Linked DNA regions of Homo sapiens: all the other regions are linked to region 3. Evidence: promoter capture Hi-C in 16 types of primary human blood cells and fetal thymus (Javierre and others, 2016). All regions are on one chromosome and are shown on one strand. The core of a region is centred on a gene start or on the middle of the fragment in contact, and the rest is flanking DNA. Distances in the headings are between cores, read along the strand shown.

Evidence for each region. The method cuts DNA at HindIII sites, captures the fragments that hold promoters and counts their contacts. A CHiCAGO score of 5 or more calls a contact.
Region 1: a contact is called between a fragment that was not itself captured here and the fragment with the promoter of HUNK in region 3, in 6 of 17 cell types (endothelial precursors, erythroblasts, M1 macrophages and 3 more). The highest score is 8.5, in endothelial precursors.
Region 2: a fragment that was not itself captured here is called in contact with the fragment with the promoter of HUNK in region 3 in 1 of 17 cell types (endothelial precursors); the score reaches 5.6 in endothelial precursors.
Region 4: a contact is called between a fragment that was not itself captured here and the fragment with the promoter of HUNK in region 3, in 2 of 17 cell types (endothelial precursors and M2 macrophages). The highest score is 7.3, in endothelial precursors.

What each region holds. Positions count from the first base shown.
Region 1 is chr21:32,272,794-32,275,493 of GRCh38, reverse strand. MIS18A (MIS18 kinetochore protein A) reads left to right here. Exons shown (of 5, transcript NM_018944.3): 2 at 598-664. Among named protein-coding and RNA genes, the nearest start is that of MIS18A, 4.9 kb to the left of the region's middle. The HindIII fragment of the contact is 4,985 bases long and covers 1-2,700 here.
Region 2 is chr21:32,213,916-32,216,615 of GRCh38, reverse strand. It overlaps a transcript of MIS18A not described here. Among named protein-coding and RNA genes, the nearest start is that of MIS18A, 64 kb to the left of the region's middle. The HindIII fragment of the contact is 1,666 bases long and covers 428-2,093 here.
Region 3 is chr21:31,871,716-31,874,415 of GRCh38, reverse strand. It overlaps HUNK (hormonally up-regulated Neu-associated kinase), which reads right to left and starts at 1,396. Exons shown (of 11, transcript NM_014586.2): 1 at 481-1,396. The coding sequence starts at 741. RefSeq lists silencers at 123-302, 1,229-1,278. The HindIII fragment of the contact is 7,184 bases long and covers 1-2,700 here.
Region 4 is chr21:32,232,418-32,235,117 of GRCh38, reverse strand. It overlaps a transcript of MIS18A not described here. Among named protein-coding and RNA genes, the nearest start is that of MIS18A, 45 kb to the left of the region's middle. The HindIII fragment of the contact is 1,872 bases long and covers 369-2,240 here.

The DNA.
Region 1 (2,700 bases), core at 147-2,646, 400 kb before region 3:
CCTGAGGACCCTCTCAGTTACTTTTAGAGAAATGGGCCCTGTGTTTGAAATCTGGAGATATATGTGTTGGCTGTTTGCATCTTCCTAGGTTTGGAACCCAATTTCACTATCTGGCAGATAATTCTTTGCAGTGTGTGATTTGAGGTTCTACTTGTTCCAAGTTTACTGTGGAATGAATTTTCCCCTCTAATTTTAGCCATTCTATTAATGTTAGTGGTTTTCAGGGAAAGGGAGGAAATAACCTTTTAAAATTTTTCTTAAATTTTTATTTAAAAATTTTTTTTTAGAGATGGAGTCTCGTTATGTTGTCCAGGCTGACCTCGAACTCCTGGCCCCAAGCCATTCTCTCACCTTGGCCTCCCAAAGGGTTGGGATGACAGGTGTGAGTCCCTGCGCCTGGTTGGAAATAACTCTTATTCTGCTATCTTTTCCCAGAAGACCCCAGTACATTTAGTTTTAAACCGCTCTTTTGTGTGTTTGACTTTGGGCTTATTTTTTGTCCTCCGAGTTCTAAAAAGTTGGATTAGAAACTCTCTGTCTGCAGGTATGTTATAACGAACTACATTAATAAATTATTGTTACTTTCTCTGTTTCTAGGTGTTTCCTGTAATGTTTCTGTGGATAAGGAACAGAAGCTATCCAAACGTGAAAAGGAAAATGGTTGGTGAGTAAAACTGTATTTATATGAATATGTTAGAGAATTTTCTTTAATAAAAATCTTTAAAAGGTCATTACTAGTAGTAAGATTACTTGGGATAAAACTTTTCATGATAGTAAAAAAATCAGTCGTTCGCATATATCAGTTCTTTTTTTTGCTTTTTCTATATCCTGTTTTAGAAAGGAATATGTTAGTTCTTGAGTGGTTGTGGTCACCTTTAGATATTGAAAAGTTAGAGTTTCTAGATTTCTAAAAGCATATGCTGACATTCCCTTTTTGGATCTTTGGGCTTGGTGCTGAAGAAAATCAAAAATAAAAATAGAAAAAGAAGGTCGGGCACGGTGGCTCACGCCTGTAATCCCAGCACTTTCGGAGGCCAAGGTGGGCAGATCACCGGGGGGTCAGGAATTCGAGACCAGCCTGGCCAACATGGCAAAACCCCGTCTCCACTAAAAATACACAAATTAGCCGGGCATGGTGGTGCGGGCCTGTAATCCCACCTACTCAAGAGGCTGAGACAGGAGAATCACTAGAACTACGGAGGTGGAGGTTGCAGTGAGCCAAGATCGCCAGTGCACTGCAGCCTGGGCAACAGAGAAAGACTCCGTCTCAAAAAAAAAAAAAAAAAAAAAAAAAAAGAAGAAAAGGAAATACCTATATTATAAAATCTCAATGTTAAAGGGTGCCTTAGGCTAATGCTGCCCAACTTTCTCATGTTATGGCACACACATAAAATGCTGCTGTCACACACACAGCCTATTGGGGTAAACAGACAAGGCTGTTTGTGGCAAGAGCAAACAACACAGGAGCTCCAGCAATCTGAAGCCCTGTGTGGCCACTTTAAGGGTAGAGGGGACAAATATCTTGCCATACCTGCCACCCATGTGCCATAGTGACGCCTGAGCAAACTGAGTGGGAAGCGCTGCCCTATATAATTGTTGCTGCAAATGTAAACTGTATCTTACACTTGCGTATGAAATAACTTTAGGTGGTACACAGTTAAACAAAAATTAATTATGTGTATATTTTAATGTGTATTAAAAATACTGGCTTTTCATTTTTAGTGATGCTAGAGTATCCTATCAAATAAAGTATATTTCAATTTAAAAAAAATTACTCTGTGCACTTATGACCAAATACCTCCTGATGACCCCTCCTCCCAATACCATCACATTAGGAGCTACCATTTCAACTTATACATGTGGTAGGGGACAGAAACATTCAATACTTAGTCGCTCCTAAAACCCTTTCGATTTCTTGAGTGATGGGGTGATAAGGGTATCTTTTGTTACCATGTTTGGTCTTAGTCCCCAGTTCTGACAGAAGAGCTTCTAAGATGCTTGGAATCTCTGGAGTGATAATAATGTCGTTTTTAATCCTAATGAGGTGACTGTGGCTGGGGGGCTTCTATGTAGCTTCAGGATTGGGGGCCAGAAGGACCAAGGCATGATTAGAGGGTTGGAAGTTTTGGCCCTACCCCAACCTCTTCTCCTACCTCCATCGAGGGCAGAGGGGCTAGAGATTATCAGCAATGGTGTAATTAATCATGCCTGTGTTATAAAACCTCCAAAAAACCCATGGGTTTTAGAGAACTTCCAGATTGGTGAATATGAGATGCCGGGAGGGTGGTGTACCTAGAAAGGTCTTGGAAGCTCTGTGTCCCCCTTCTGTAACCTTTGCCCTATGTATCTCTTCCATAAAAGTGAAAAAAAAAAAAAAAGAAAAAAAGTTTCTCCATTTAAGATAAATTAGTAATAGTACAGATGGTTTGTGGATGTGACAGAAATTGTGGTGCCGGCATGCAGGCCATAAAAATTTGGAAAACCCACCTCAGATCATTTCTCATTTGGTAGTTGAAGAAAGTTAGGCCCAGGGAGGCTAGAACTTTGCTAAGGTCACAGGACTAATTAGCAGTAAGAGCTAGGATGATGCTTGTTACCCTTCCTTACTGCCTTCGAAGTGCTCTTTCTTCTCCACTTTCTAGCTCTAGCTCTAGCCATTTTGATATCACCATCATTTTTGTCCTATTTGTGTACCAGGTA
Region 2 (2,700 bases), core at 11-2,510, 340 kb before region 3:
GAATATATCAGAGCTTTTAAAAGCTCTCTTTGAACAAGTCATTCTCCAGCTTTTCCTTTTAAGCTCTTTGGTTGGCCTATTATTTGCCCCAACTGCTATCTACTGCCTCAGGCAGTCAAGATGCTTTGTTTTAGACAAATATCCTCTGAAGAAAAGGCTTTTTGCACTGGAAGAGCTCTGAGTCACATCACATAAAGACAGCATTGTTGGTGGGGTCTTCCAGGAAAGTAGACAGGTGGAATGATGACAGTTCTCTGGAAATGGAACTTTGAGGGGGCTCCAGAACTGTTCTTCTCCTTCCAGTGGCTGTCAGACTAGGTTTTTGAGATTTTTCACTGCGATTGTGGGCTGTTGGTTTTCCAGAGTACTGCAAATCTGGGGGTACGGGTAAGGGATGGGAATAGGCAAATTAAAATACCACAAAGCTTTCTATTTTTTTACCAAGATTCAGCCATTGTTACTGAATAAATGCACCTCAGATTGTTGCAAGCCTTTGGTTAATTTCTAAATTTCTGAAAAATTTGATTCTGACTTTTTTTTGGTTAGTGTTTTTGTTGCTTTTATGGAGGAGAGGAGTTTTAGAGGTCTTTAGTCCACCACATCCACTAACATCCCCCACATCTTCTTATGGTGATGGCACCACAGAGTGTTAGAAATTCATCTTAGAATGTTAGACCTTTTTGTTATGATCTAAATTTTTGTATTCTAGCCTGCAAACTTTTTGTTTTCATAGAATGACAAATAGTGGGAAAAACCTCCCACCAAAATAATTTTTACTAAAATGTGCCTCTCAGTTTTTGGTTCAGGTACTCTAGGTCACTGTAATCATAGAACCAGATTATCCCATACCAGAGAAACAAGTGACTAATGACTAATTGGAATAATCCAGGGAGGCTCCTCCTGATCCTCTCCAGGACAAAATTATGAGTAAGAGGGCAAGAAAGAAAGGCAGCGGCTATCTTTGTGTTTCAACAAAAAGAAGATACCTATGTTCAGCCTGCCTCTGCTTGTCCTCTAGAGCTCCCTCTGAGATGGATACCAGCTTGTCATCTGATTTCAGCTGGGGTGAGATATCCTGACCGTCCCTGGCTTCCCTAGTGAACATCAGCACATGGAGATAAGCACTTACCTCGCGTTCCTACCCCTTGGCCTACCAGGGCTGTTTTCTGGGAAATCAGCCTTGCTGGGAAGCCACAATCTTTTCTGTTTAGCAATAGCCAGTGGAGATGCTTTTAACAGTGGGTCACAGCCGGAGATCTCTCCCAAATGTTTCCCCACAGTGCTACCCCTGTAAATTTTGGTGGAAAAACAATTTGGCTCAGACAAGGTGAGTGCAGGGGGAAAGGAGGGGTGAGAGGGAGAGAGGGCAAGCCTGAGCTGGCTGCTGGCTGGCCCTTGCTGTGACCCTGATTTGCAGTGTGTCTTTTGGAGGCTTTTAAATCACGTTAGTCTCTGTCTGTCCCTGGCTTAATGAACAGTGTCAGAACAGCCAAGCACTCTCCTGCTTAGCCTCACCAGGTGGCCTGAGCCCACAAGATGTCAACATTCACAGGCCCTGGGTGCAGCTTGGCTTGCTTATGTCCCCGTCCCATTGCCCTCCCTCTCACAGAGTCCTGAGTTTGTCCCCTTGGCTCCGGGAGACTCAGCCTGGAGTGTTCTCTGGGGCAGCTAGACCCTGTCCAGCCAGTGGTCTTGACTCACACTGGACTTACCTGGGGGAATCCCACCCTGACCCAGTTAAACCAGAGGCTCCGGGGCTGGGGCTTGTGATCACTGGGCAGGTGAGTCATTTCTTAGCTTGGCACAGTGAGTGAGTGGCAGGGCAAGGGCCGGGCTGCAGGTATCCTGTCCCTCAGCCCAGAGCTCCTTGTGCTGTAGGTAACATTGCTATTGTCATTGCTGTTATTTCTGTATCCTTGTTTTCCAATCTGGACTCCAGAGACTGTCAAGGGTTTATTTTGAAATATGGTAATGGGAGTTGTGTGCTTCTTTTCAAGATTTTTAAAAGTTTAATGGAAATTATGCCTTAATCTGTGATTAGAACATATAGGCTACTACTTACTAAATGTAGATGGTTAAGAAGACAAAAAGCTTTTAAAACCCAAGAGCTCATGGAAGAAAAATAATAACAAGATCACTAGTCAACCATACATATGTATAAAAGTTTGGAAAGCGCAGCACCAAACCTTCCTGACTGGGACCCTTGCAACCCGTCTGCATCCCAGCTCTCGCCTCTCCAAGGTTCTTGCCAAAGGAAGTGACTTTGTCAGAATTTTCTAGGTCCAATGCACTCTCTAGATGAGACCCCACCAACTGCCAAGATGTGGAGCTCTGAATCAACCTCCTGAGGAATGTGGTGGATCCTCTCATGTCCCATCTGAGAATGGGGGTTTCTGGCCTCCAAGGTGGACCTGATAGCTATGTTCCTCAGAGAAGAGAGGTGGGGTGTGGGGTCAAGGGCGTGGGCACCATGGGAGTGAGGGACCACAGCCTTTAACACAGCAATCCCTCCACTGGGGAGCACTGGCTGGTGGATGTCAGAGTGTCTACTCTGGTTTCCTAGGGGACAGGGGAAATGGAATGAAGAGAGAACAGGAGTGTTTCCTCCCATACCCCCTGTGGTAGACTGAATAATGAACCCCCAAAGATATTCAGTCCTAGAATTCCCAGAATCTGTTCATTATCCCGGTTTACCCAAGA
Region 3 (2,700 bases), core at 147-2,646:
CCTCCTCCGAGAGCCCAGGACGGGGATCAGACTCTAAGCTCCCCCCAGAGGCTGGCTGTTAGCTTTCCTGCCCCCCCCGCCCCCCGACATAAGAGCCCACCTCCTCTAGCCCTGGTTCCCGCCTCGCCACGGATCCGCCGCCCCTGCCGGCCTGAAGGGCAGAGGGGCCCCATCCCGCCCCCCGCGCTAGTGTCGCCAGGCGGCGCCCTTCCACGAGCAGAACGGCCGCGCGGGACGCTTCCCGGGGCAAGGCCGTCCCCTCCCAAGCCCCCAACCCCCGGGCAGCGGACCGCAGGCCGCCTTCGGGAAAGGCTGCGAGATGCTGAGCGCGCGTTTTAACCCAACAGGAAAGCCGGGCGGAGGGGGAAGGCGCTTGGCCCGGGACTGCACACTGGGACTCCCAGTGCAGTGCTCCCCGCGGGGTCCTGGCCGCCGACTCCCGCCCCTGTGCCCCAGCCCCACGGCGCCCGGGAGACTCACCTTCTCCCCGGTCAGCACGTGCAGCCCCTCGCGCACCTTGGCAAAGGAGCCCTCGCCCAGCTTCCTGCTGCCGATGAGGTAGTTGCCCACGCGCTTGTGGTGCTGGAAGTCGCGGAGCCGCTCGCGGGGCACGCCGCTCACCCAGGCAGGCAGGAAACTTCCCTCGCAGGCCGCCGCGGGCCTGGCCGCGTCCTCCGCGCCGCCGCCGCCCCCAGGCGCCGCCGGCTCCCCCAGGAGCCCGTCCCCCGCCGCCGCCGGCATCGCGCTCGCCGCGGCCCGCGCGGCTCCTGCTCGTCTCCCGCGCTCGCAGCTCCTCCTCCCCAGGCTCTTCGGCTTCCCCGGCTTCTCCCGCCGCCGCCCTGGGCCCAGCCCCGCCTGGGTCTCCGCACCCAGAGCCCGGGGCCGCCGCGATCACGCCCCCCGCGCCGCCCAGCGAGGCGCGTAGACAATAGCGGCTGCCCAGGGGACGCGGGACCGGGGACCCCGCCCCCAAAAGTTCTTCCTCTTAGGGTCGCCCGGGCCCCTTTCAGGACACCAGGATCCCGCCCCGGGTCCCGTCCAGGAAGCTAATGACAGTCGCCCTGCTCGGGCGCGCGGGGTGGGGCGCGGTCCGGCGGCGCCTGGGTCCCGGGGTCCGGGTGCCTGGGTCCGGGAGCCCGGGTGCCTCCGCAGCCTCCGCCTCGCCGCCGCCGTCTGGCCCGCACGGGCTTGGGTCGGGCTCCCGCGATCGCTCCTAGCCGTGCGCTGGGCGGCCGCTCCCGCCGGAGAGAAGCGCGCGGCGGGCTGCCGGCGCCCTCTGGAAGGCAGCAGAAGAAAGCCCCATTCAGTTTGAATTTGCAGAAATTTAATCCGCTCGCGGGCGGCGGGAACAGATGCGAGCTCCACTCCGCAGCCCGTGCACTTTCAAATCCCTAGTAGCCCCTCCTTCCCCGCGCGCCACAGTCAAACTCGACCCTCGCTGGAGAGGGGAGGGCCCGGGGAGGGGAGCGGCGGAGTGGACGGAGAAGCCACCTGAGCGCCAGACAGGGAGAACCTGCGCGGCCTCGGAGGCGCGCGCTCCCGGGCCGCCCAGGTCGGGCCGCCTCCGGCTGCGCCTCTTGCCCGGATTCTGGGCTTGGGTTTTCTGGACCTTTCGGCGGTGAAATCCCCCACTGGCCGCACCCACCCGGGGCGGGGGGAAGGGGGAAGGCTCTCGAACTCCGTGGACTGTGAGTCGGGTTGCGTGCCCGGCCCTGAGTCCGCCACACAGTAGGGCCCCCTGGACCGGGGGTGGAAGGATAGATGGATGGCTGGAAGAAAGGGTGGGGAGGCGGCCAGGCGTCTGCCCGGGCTCGCACGCAGCCTGGTTGGCTGTGTTGGAGGAGGCGCAGCCACAGCAGTAATAGTAGCAGCAGCAATGTAGGAACCAGGGCGTTTGCTGCCTCTGCTTGTAGCTTACACCTTCTTTGCCTTCCATTGAAATGATGCCTGTGATTGCAGGAGGTGGACCGGCGCTCGCCTCTCTTCGATGCTTTTGTTCTGCAAGCGCTGTGACTGTGCTCATCGCATAAACAATTGCAACTGCCCTGACGACACTGGACCCTCTCCCAGGATCCCCAACGTCTTCTCAAACCGAAAATGAAGAATCTTGTGAGGGAGAAGGAGGAGGGTAGGTAGGAGGAGGCATTTACAAAATGCTACCTGTTGAGGTGCCCGCATTTGATGGAAACTTCACCCCGATCATGCAACATCAGAGCTGAAAGGAAGGATTTGGTCCTAACAAAGTTCCTTTCATTGTTTATTCCTGAGTAAACAAGTATGACATCGACCCATAGCAATGCTTTGAGATTGGGAGTGGGGGGTGGGGGAACAACAGCTGTCATCAATCCAGTGTCTGGGGGTCTCGCTGACCCATCTGAAGAGGGACGCAGAGAAATGCCTGCTTTCAATACATCTAATTTTAAATACGCTACTATATTCATCCACCTACCTGTTACAAGTCACCAGCCTCAGTTATTATGACGGAACATACTGCGTTTTCTGTTGTTCTGTCTCATTGTTCCCGTTTACCAATATTAAAGATACAGCTTAAAATGTTTTTCTTGCTGTGCTGAAGGGACTTCTTTGCTCCCACCGGCCTTGACTATTTCAGTAACGTTCATTCAATCCTTTTAATGTCTCTAATTCAGTAATCAAATCTTAACAGGACAGTTGCATGGGAGGGGAATGGTAACTAGCGTG
Region 4 (2,700 bases), core at 55-2,554, 360 kb before region 3:
ACAGCATCTACTCCTCTGCATTCATGCTCAGGGAATGAGTGTTGTGATCAATTAGCTATATCTGCCATGGGCATGGGTCATCTCTGTGGAGACCCATGCTGGGAGGAGAGGAGAGGAAAGAATGAAATAGGTGCTCCTCTGTCTCAAGAGCTCTGGTAAAATGTTTACTGAGGAAAGTTATGAAAATTACAGAATAAGATTTGCATTACAGCTTACTGTTAGTCCGTTCTTGTGTTGCTATAAAGGAATACCCAAGGCTGGGTAATTTATAAAGAAAAGAGGTTTTATCTTGGCTCATGGTTCTGTAGGCTGTACAGGAAGTGTGGTGCCGGCCATCTGCTGGGCTTCTAGTGAGGCCTCAGGAAGCTTCCAATCACGGCAGAGCCTGCATGTCACATGATGAGAGAGGGAGCCAGAGAGCCAAGGGGGAGGTCTCAGACTCCTTTAAACAAGCAGTTCTCACATGAACCGAGTGAGAACACACTCATCACCATGGATGCTGCTAAGCCAGTCATGAGGGGGTCCCACCTTCAACATTGGGGATTATATTTCAACAGGAGATTTGGAGGGGACAAACATCCACACCACATCATGGCCCAACCATTGCCTTATAAATTGAGATCTGGCACTACCTCTTTCCTAAGGACTCAGAAGCAGAGCTTCTGGTAAGAACCTTTGGTTGCAAGCAACAGATTTCATTCCTGGGTAACTTCAGCACGTTAGGCATTAGGACTATGGGAAGCACATTGAGGGAGCTCATGGGATCAAAGAAAGACCGTAAGGCTGAGCAGGAATTGGGGCCACTCCAGCATCCTCAGCATCAGGACTGCTTTCTAGGGTGGGGCCAGAACCCTCCGCTCCAACCACCTCTGGTCTCTCTGATTCCTTCTTTTTGATCAACTTATAATTTTAGAATAGTTTCAGTTTACTGAAAAGTTGCAAGAATATTAGAAAGAGTCCCTGTACTATTTCCCCTATTGTTAACACTGCTATGGTACATTTGTCACAAATAATGAACGGATGTTGACACATTGTTATTACCTAAATTCCACAGTTTACTCAGATTTCCTTAGTTTTTATTTAATATCATTTTTCTGCCCCAGGAGCCCATCCAGGGCACTGCATTACATTTAGTAGTCATATCTCCCGAGGCTTCTCTAGACAGAATTTCTCAGACTTTCCTTGTTTTTGATGACTGGACAGTTTTGAGGAGTATTGGTGAGGTGTTTGTAGAATATCCTTTACTTTCTGTTCCCCTTTAATTTTGGCTCAGTTTGAGTCCAGCGTCTTCCTCCTTGGATCAATTTGCCATGGCCAGGGGCAGAGTGGGAGCAGAACAAGTCCATGGTTGGGGTGGGGGTCATTGTGAACCCTAGCCATCCCATTTTGTGCCTACAACCTTGGTAATGAAATCAGGGTCCCCTGCCTGCAAGATAAGATGAAACGAATTACAGCTCCCAGGAGGATGATTCCATATGCCCACAATGGTAGCATAAGAAGTGGCACAAAATTTGATGGCCAAGGTTAAGCAATTGTAGAGAGGAAACCTGAGTAATTCTGACCAGAATCAAAGCCGTGGCTGCTACGTACTTTATTCTCTGTGCTTCAGCTTAAAACAGGAGAGTATGCCTGAAATTCCTTTTCCATTGCTTGTCATTTTGATTACAGTATCACTGCACATAGCAATTTTTTTTCCTATCAACAAAATGGCAAACCCTCAAAGTGTAGATTCTTACGATTACACGGTACAATTAATTTGCTATTTCTTTTGTTTCTCTCCCCATCCCAACCCTGAAGATTACAGAACAATTGATGTGCAAGACCTTGGTTAAAAACAACTGCTGCTGAGAAAAATTCAGAAATGCAATTCATTTCTAAATAGGTCATTTACATAGCAAAGAGCTGTGGTGCTCACTGAACTGAGCTGAACTCATTGAACTCATTGACTCATGCCTTTATTCAGAAAACAAGGAATTCATCCAGGAAAGCAATTAAACACTGGCCTATTTAAAGAAACCTGTTGCTCTTTTGTAAACTGGACAATTATTTGTTTGCCCAGAATATAGAGGTTAAGTGAATTTAGACTACTGCCTTTCCTGTTTTCAAATAGAAACAATTTCACTGTGTATGTCAAAGCTGGACCAGGTAAAATGATCATTTTCAGGTTCCCATTGATTCTCCATCTCTGCTCACTCTAATACCCTGTAGAGAGCACCTAAAATCTACTCTCTTAGCAAGCTTCCAGTATACAATATAATATTATAACTATAGTCCTCATGTTGTACATTAGGTCTCTAGGTTTTATTCATCCTGCCTATCTGCAACTTTGTCTCCTTTGACCTATATCTCTTCATTTCTTCCCTCTCCTTCCACCTTCCTGGTAACCACAGTTTTAATTCTTTGTTTCTATGCATTTGACTCTTTAAAAATTTCTTCATATAAGTGAGATCATGCAGCATTTTTCTTTCTGTGTCTGGTTAATTTCACGTAGCATGATGTCCTCCAAGTTCATGTATGTTGTCACAAAGATGAATAATATTTGTATTTTTTAAAGGCTGAATAATATTCAATTATATATATACACAAAATGAATATTATTCTGTATACAATGGAAGTTATTCAGTATACAATGGATATTATTCAGCCTTAAAAATGATGGATACTCTAAAGATATATATATCTTTATATATGTAATATAAA